Regions from separate parts of the Homo sapiens genome. Here region 1 is linked to region 2. The links are contacts of gene promoters, found by promoter capture Hi-C in human tissues and cell types (Jung and others, 2019). All regions are on one chromosome and are shown on one strand. The core of a region is centred on a gene start or on the middle of the fragment in contact, and the rest is flanking DNA. Distances in the headings are between cores, read along the strand shown.

Region 1 (3,563 bases), core at 595-3,094, 120 kb before region 2:
GCCTTTTTTTCTCTTTCTGACACGTAGGGTGTAAAGGGTTCAGGTAGCCTCAGGGCTGGGGCCGACATGAGTTTTTCTTTTAACTCATGAAAAGCTCATTGCTGTTGGTTGTAATAGATGTAGTTTATCTAATCTACATTTTTATTAACTGTCACTCACCAAAATATTGACTCAAATCCTGCAGCTATTTGATTTCAAGCTTTAAATTGATCTGGTATTCCTCATGGGACTCCAATTGCGTCTAAATAGACATGAGAGTCAAAAGACCCATAAGGGGCTTCTCTCGCTTTACAATGTCTTATTTTTTCTCCCTCTGGTTGATGAAATGCCAGGGTGAAAGGGATAGCCAATTGGACTAAAGTACAAGTGCCACTCCAGTTATTCGGCAGAGTGCCTAGTAAAGGTCCACCAAAATACCACCACACATCCGCTCAGGGATGAACAAGGGCTGACTGATTAATAAGCTCTTGAAAATTCTTAAGCTCATCGCATCCCTTCAGGTCTCCAAGGAATGCTAAGTTTCCTCCCTGTAGTGAGAGATACGAAGTGAACTTAGTGTTGGGAGACGGAAGCTGGATGGCCCTCAGGGGCTGACCCGCAGGGTGCCAGACTTAGGGATACAGCAGAGAGAGCTTGGCATGACTTATTACTCCAGGCTGTAGAATCCTGGAAAAGAGCTACCATGCAACCTACACCTGGTCGACTGGAGGACCACCTTAGTGGAAGGGGGACAGTCTGGGCCTCTGGCCTGCCATGTGCACAAGCATAACAATTGCTTTTGTTTAATGTGCAGATGGAATATTTGATCCATTTTAACTAGGCATTTGCATGTTGGTATCCTGTCTTAATTGCTAAAATTTGTTTTAAGTCTTTAACTTCTATGATCCTCTAGTAAAATTAATGTATGATTTTAGGAAATTATAAAAACCGGTTGGGGCAGTCCATCTTTGCTCTTTAATGGTCCACAGAACATTGGACCAACTATGGCATGAAAGCTCTACGTCGGGGGCAAGACTCTTCGTTGGCACTGGGGTCTTTATCGAAATCTCCCTGGATTAAATGGTCCTAGTTTACTAATGCCCAGTCTGAGGAGAGTCAGGAGAGACAGAAGTGCTTTTCTGAAGTAGAGAGCTGTCTTTGACTTGGCAAGTCCTCACAGGGTATAACAAAGCAATCATTAAATGCAATAGTTTGAGGAGAAATTGACTTGGTTATGTTAATAACTAGATGGTCAGCAATAGAATGAGGAAAGAAGAAAGAGTAATAGAATAGATGAAAAGAGTTAAGTTTTTCTTAGCTTTAGTTTGATAGGGTTTTCCTTTGGGACTATGGCCTACAACTCTGGAGGGGGTGGCACTTTCTTGACTCGGATGTGATGAGTCCATTCTTTTTTTTTTTTTCTGTACGAACAGCAGTCTTGGTGGTTAGCAGCACAAGGCAGGGTCCTTCCCAGGCTGGCTTGAGTTTTTCTTCCACAGTTTGATGAGAATATGATCTTCAGGCTGGTGCTGGTTTACCGGAAATTCTAGGGGTGGTACATGTGCTAAAAGACTTTTAGTTTTTGAGAGAAAGGAAAGTGGAAGGTAAACCAAGTATATGATTTTTAAGAAAATGTCTTTTTGTTTTAAATGTGGGGACCTTGGCCGTGGACTTTATAGTCCTTAGTGCCTTTTTACTGAGAAATTTCCTTTAGCACCTATTTTTATTAGTTTTTAAACTAAAGAAAGCCAAATTTTTTTTACATTTAACAATGCTTCTCGTATGATTTTCATACCAGATAAGCTAAATTTTATCTTTATATTCGTGTGTTATGAATGTTAAACCTAATTTTAATAAAACTTTATAGACATATTTATCTAATTTTTAATGTTTGACCATAAGGTAAGATTTTATAGACTCTTTTTAACTTTTTATAATTTTTGCTAAAGAGCAGGTTGGTGCTTTAAGAAAAACCTGTTATGCTTTTACTTTAATGTCCAGTTCACAGAAAAACTGGATGATACTTCTTTAACTTTAGCTAATATGTTTACATACAGAATTTTCTTTACAATTAACATTTTAAAACTTGCTTAAACTTTTAAAACAATAATTTGTTTTAACTTTTTAACATAGGTAAAAATGTACATTCTTATGCCTCCTTACCAAAGGTATATTTTACTTTTCTTATACACCTTGCACATAAACTGGTTTGTTTTTTTTTTTAAATAGTTTTACATTCAGGAGGCCTAGTTACTTTTAAATTATACTACATTTTTGCATAAATTCTTTTTTATAACTTTTTTTCTTTCATGGTTTTCGCAGACAATTCTTCGATATTCTTCAACTTTTTGACTTATTACAAATATTTCTTTCTTTAAACCAGTTAATTTATTTCAGGACAACAATTTACTATATAATACTCTTTTTATATAAATTCCACCCCCTAAGGAAAAAAAATTCTTTTTTCCTTAGGATACTTCTGAACTGGTGAGGTGTGCTCACAATGAGGTTTCCTCTAAAAGTTTTTTTTTTTTACTTTTTTTTTGTTGTTAGCAAAGCAGTTGCCGCTACAGACTGAATGCATTTGGGCCATCCGCGGGTCACTGGGTTAAGGATTTTTGATAGGAAGGCCTCAGTGCTTTCGGATACGGCTTTGTTTACACTGACAACAAAGTGGTATTGGAGTGTTACAGGGTTACGGAGAATACCTTCAATTATCAATTATAGGTTTTAAATTTACCTTGGCTTTTAAAGGAATAGGGTACACCTTTTTTTTTTCTTAACTGCTTGTATATCTCTCTTTCTTTCTTTCTTTGACTTTGTCTCTCTTTGACTTTCTTTTTGCCTCTGTCTCTTCTCTCTCTCTGCATTTCTTTCTCTCTGTCTTTCTCTCTCTCCTTGACTCCCTCTCTGTCTGTCTTTTCCTCTCTGTCTCTTCCTCTCTGTCTCTTTCCTTTCTCTCTTTCTGCTGGTCTTTCTTTGCCTCTGCCAGCCACTTATGCTGCTGTTCTCAACCGCTGTGTGTTGGGGGCGGGGGGTCTAAAACTAGCTGTAACCAAGTGTCTATGTACGGGAACTGGTCTGGGTTCCCTGGCTTACAGGTTACTTTGTGCCATACCTTTGAAACAAGGGACCTGTCCAGGCTTTTTTCTAATGGCCAACCTACCTCTAATGCTGGCCAGTCTATCTTACACAAAGTTTTAAGTTTTCCTCGTGTCATAGTACTCTATAGTCTCCTTTAAATTCTTTTTTGAAATTTTTCAACATAGTTCCTAGCAGGGTGGGCTTATTTGTGCCTGACCTATGCTTCTTCGACACAAAACACCACACTCACACCACACGCACACCACAAAACAAAGAACAGGTAAAAAGGGCACACACACACTTTCGCAGTTTGCACCAAACTAAAATCAAAACTAAAATCAGAGTATCTAGAAATCTAAGTTAGGTCAAAACCAAAACCAGAGTATTAAGCAATCTAAGTCAAGTCAAAAACAAAAACTAAAGTGCCGGTACAGGCACACCATGGGTGATCAGGCCACGCTTCCACTTAAATGCAGTGGGCAAGTTTCTTTTTTTTTTTT
Region 2 (3,404 bases), core at 474-2,973:
AGACGTGAGCCTCTGCGCCCAGGCAGCCTCATCTCTGCTGCTCCATTTTACCTTTCCCTCGATCATTCTCCCTTTCATCCAAAATCAGGCTCGCAAATGAGATTCTCCAAAAGAAAGGAAAAAAAAAAAAAAAGGAACTCACCTCCATCCTCTTCCAGGCATAGAAATTAACTTTGGTGTCTGGGACAGTGATATTCTCATTCAAGCTGCAGTGTTCAGCACAGCCCGTCTGAAATGCACACAGCCCGGGGAGTCAAGGGTCCCTGAAGGCTCTGGCCCTGGCCCACAGGCCGTAGGATCTGCTGGCTTTGCTCCTTGCCTAGTTTCCAGGTATGGTTTGGGGCCACCAGACTTATTCTTATGTAGGGGGGCAGTGTCTAGCTTCCCAACTCCACCCCAAACCAAGTGCCAGGTTCCTGGATCTGGGAGGAGTTCCCTGAAGCCCTGAGCGTGAGTTCTGTGGAATGTGCTGGGGAAGGGGTCTCACCGTGATATTCTCGGCCTCCTTGGCCTCCAAGAGGTACCTCTCCAGGACTCGGCTGTCACAGATGAGGCGTGGTGGGGCGCCCAGGACTGGGAGGCCCAGAGGGAGCGACAGCAGGGACAGGAGAAGCCACAGCCAGGCAGGACATTCTAGAACAGATAGCCAGGCTGAGAGTCAGGCGGGGAGGGAGAAGGGTGGCTGTGGAAGGACAGCTTCCTTCATCCCCACGTCTCTGCCCCAGCTCGTCCTTCCTGTCCCCAACCATGCAAGCACTCAGGTGCTGCCTCCCTGGCCTTCATTCAATCCTGCTGCCGTGTGCACACCCCACCCCCAGCTACCAGCATCCACTTCTCCGGCCAAACTTCAATCCTGGTGTGACAGAGGCTTCCCCTCTGGCAGATAAGTGGTGGCTCCAGCGCCCAGGTTATCAGCTTATCAGCTTCCTCTCCACTGGCACAGCAGAACCCCCAAACCTTCTTCCCCTCAACCCCCAAACTGTGTCCCCTTCACAGGTCAGGTTTTTGCCATCCCCAAGGACTCCCCCAAGTCCCCGCTGGCACGTGGAGGCTGCCCCACCCCCCTCCCCCTTCCGGGGTCCTTGACAAGTCGCCGGTCCTTGAACCCAGCCACCTCCTGGCCAATAGCCGGGGCGCTAAATCCCCGCTCAAACAGGGACCCGGGCGGGCGGGAGCGCCCAGCCCGCGAGTACTCACCGTGCACCCCCATCTCCGCGCCTGGCCGGGGTCCCTCAGCGACCTGGGGCGCGCCGGGTGACCACACCGGGGGCCCTCATCCCGGGAAGCTCGGCGGTGCAGGGCCAGCCCCACGGGCCTGGAGGAGAGGGCGGCTGTCCAGGGGGCGCGGTGTCGGAGCAGAGCGGGCGCGGTGGCCCCGGTCCGGCTCCGGGAGGACAGCGCGGTGCGGCGCAGCGCAGCGAGCGGCCGGGGTGGCCCAGGGACTCTGCGGCTCTGGCCGGGGGTCGGGGCTGTTATCTGCATGTGTGCGTGCGCGGGTGGGGGTGGGGGAGAGGCTGTGTGCGTGAGGGGTCGCCAGGGGTAGGGGCCACCCGGGGTCAGAGCAGGGGCAGGACGCCTGGGTTGAGGCTCGCCGGGGCGTGAGCGGGGCTGCTGCAGACGTGCGTGTGGGTCATGGGGGCTGCTCCCGGGCCCTGGGTCGCGGGAGGGGAGTGCAGCCGGTTGCGCACCCTTGGGACTGGCGGAGCGTGCTATCTGGGAAAGGCTGGGCTCCCGGACACCTCCCCTGGGGGGCATCCCGGTCTTGGGCGGAGACTCAGAGATGCCTGGGTTGCTGAGTTCCGCAAAGTAGCTGGGTCTGGAAGCCCAGAAGCTTTAGGGAGGGGCAAATGAGTGGTCTCCCTTCCCACAATCCCAGGACATGTTCTAGAAACAATGTTGACCATGTTGAGGAATTTGATGGGGGCAAATAGGGCAAGAAATTTGGGGTTCTTCCTCCCCACCTCACTCCTCACCGTCTAGTACTCTGCAAACCCAGACACTTAACTTTTTTTTTTTTTTCTGGAGATGTAGCCTCCCTATGTTGCCCAGGCAGTGCAGTGGTGCCATCTCCCGTTCACTACAACCTCTGCCTCCTGGGTTCAAGCAATTCTCCTGCTTCAGCCTCTGGAGCAGCTGGGACTACAGGCACACCTTTACACCCGGCTATGTTTTGTATTTTTAGTAGAGATGGGGTGTTGCCATATTGCCCATACCGGTCTTGAACTCCTGACCTCAGGTGATCCACCCTCCTCGGCCTCTCAAAGTGCTGGGATTGCAGGCGTGAGCCACCGCACCCAGCCCCCACCCCAGACACTTAACTTTTAGTGCACAGAGCACACAGTCCATTGTGCAGGACACACATGCACCTTGACATCTGTTTATTTGACCTGTGGTGTAGGTTAGCTAGGCTGCATTGCTGAGTTCTTAAGAACACTGAAATACAGCTAACACCAAGAGTGATGGGGGCTGGGATTTACAGCTAAGGTTTTATGGCTTCTGGAAACCCTGAGCCAGAGGAGTGAGATTCCCAGAGCAGGAGACCAAGACTAGCTGGTCTCTCACACCTTAGAAAGTGGCCTCGTCCTTGAGCCCTCAATGTCCTCATCTGTCAAATGGGTGTGGTGAAACTACCAGCCTATCCCATTCAGGTTTCATAAAAGACAGGAAAGGTCCAGGCGCCGCAGCTGACACCTATAATCCCAGCACTTTGGGAGACCAAGGCAGGAAGATCCTTTGAGCCCAGGAGTTCGAGACCAGCCCGGACAACATGGCAAGACCTTGTCTCTAAAATAAATAAATAAATAAAAAATAATTAGTCAGGTGTGGTGGCTCACGCCTGTAGTCCCAAATATGCAGGAGGCTAAGGCAGGAGGATCACCTGAGCCCAGGAGTTCGAGGCCGTAGTGAGCCATGATCGTGCCACTGCACTGCAGCCTGGGCGACAGAGTGAGAGCCTGTCTCAAAAACAAAAAAAGACTGGAATGTGTAGATCTGAGCTGTAAGAGTTAGCCGGGAGAAATCAAGAAAGATTTGAGGGAGGAGGTGACAATGACCTCAGCCTTGAAGGGGGGTAGGACATCAATGGGAAGAGGTATGAGGTGGGTGGGGGATTGTCGATTCAGCAAAGTGAATGGAGAGTCAGGTGAGTATTGCGGGATCTGGCCAGCAGCCCGCAATGCAACAGGGCTCTCTCTTTGTTCCCAGGCGGATCAGCAGGTTGAGAAATAATAGACACACACAAGATAGTGAAAGCTGGTCCGGGGGGTCACCGCCTTCTGGTCCCGTGGTGTCAACAATGCACCAGATGTACCATCATTTATTATTAAGTTTAGTGAGGGCGGGGGTAGGTTAGTGAGGGATTTAGGGTCATTTGATTATGAGGTGAGATGGTCACATGGGGATGA

Evidence for each region. The method cuts DNA at HindIII sites, captures the fragments that hold promoters and counts their contacts. A contact is called where the count stands out against the background at its distance.
Region 1: a contact is called between a fragment that was not itself captured here and the fragment with the promoter of EPO in region 2, in 2 of the 25 tissues and cell types used here (mesenchymal stem cells and neural progenitor cells).

Annotation. Positions count from the first base shown.
Region 1 is chr7:100,839,954-100,843,516 of GRCh38, reverse strand. The region is part of intron 1 of SLC12A9-AS1 (SLC12A9 antisense RNA 1); the gene reads left to right. It also overlaps a transcript of SLC12A9 not described here. Among named protein-coding and RNA genes, the nearest start is that of SLC12A9-AS1, 11 kb to the left of the region's middle. The HindIII fragment of the contact is 3,742 bases long and covers 1-3,563 here.
Region 2 is chr7:100,718,787-100,722,190 of GRCh38, reverse strand. EPO (erythropoietin) reads right to left here and starts at 1,723. Exons shown (of 5, transcript NM_000799.4): 1 at 1,198-1,723; 2 at 488-633; 3 at 143-229. The coding sequence starts at 1,210. The HindIII fragment of the contact is 31,866 bases long and covers 1-3,404 here.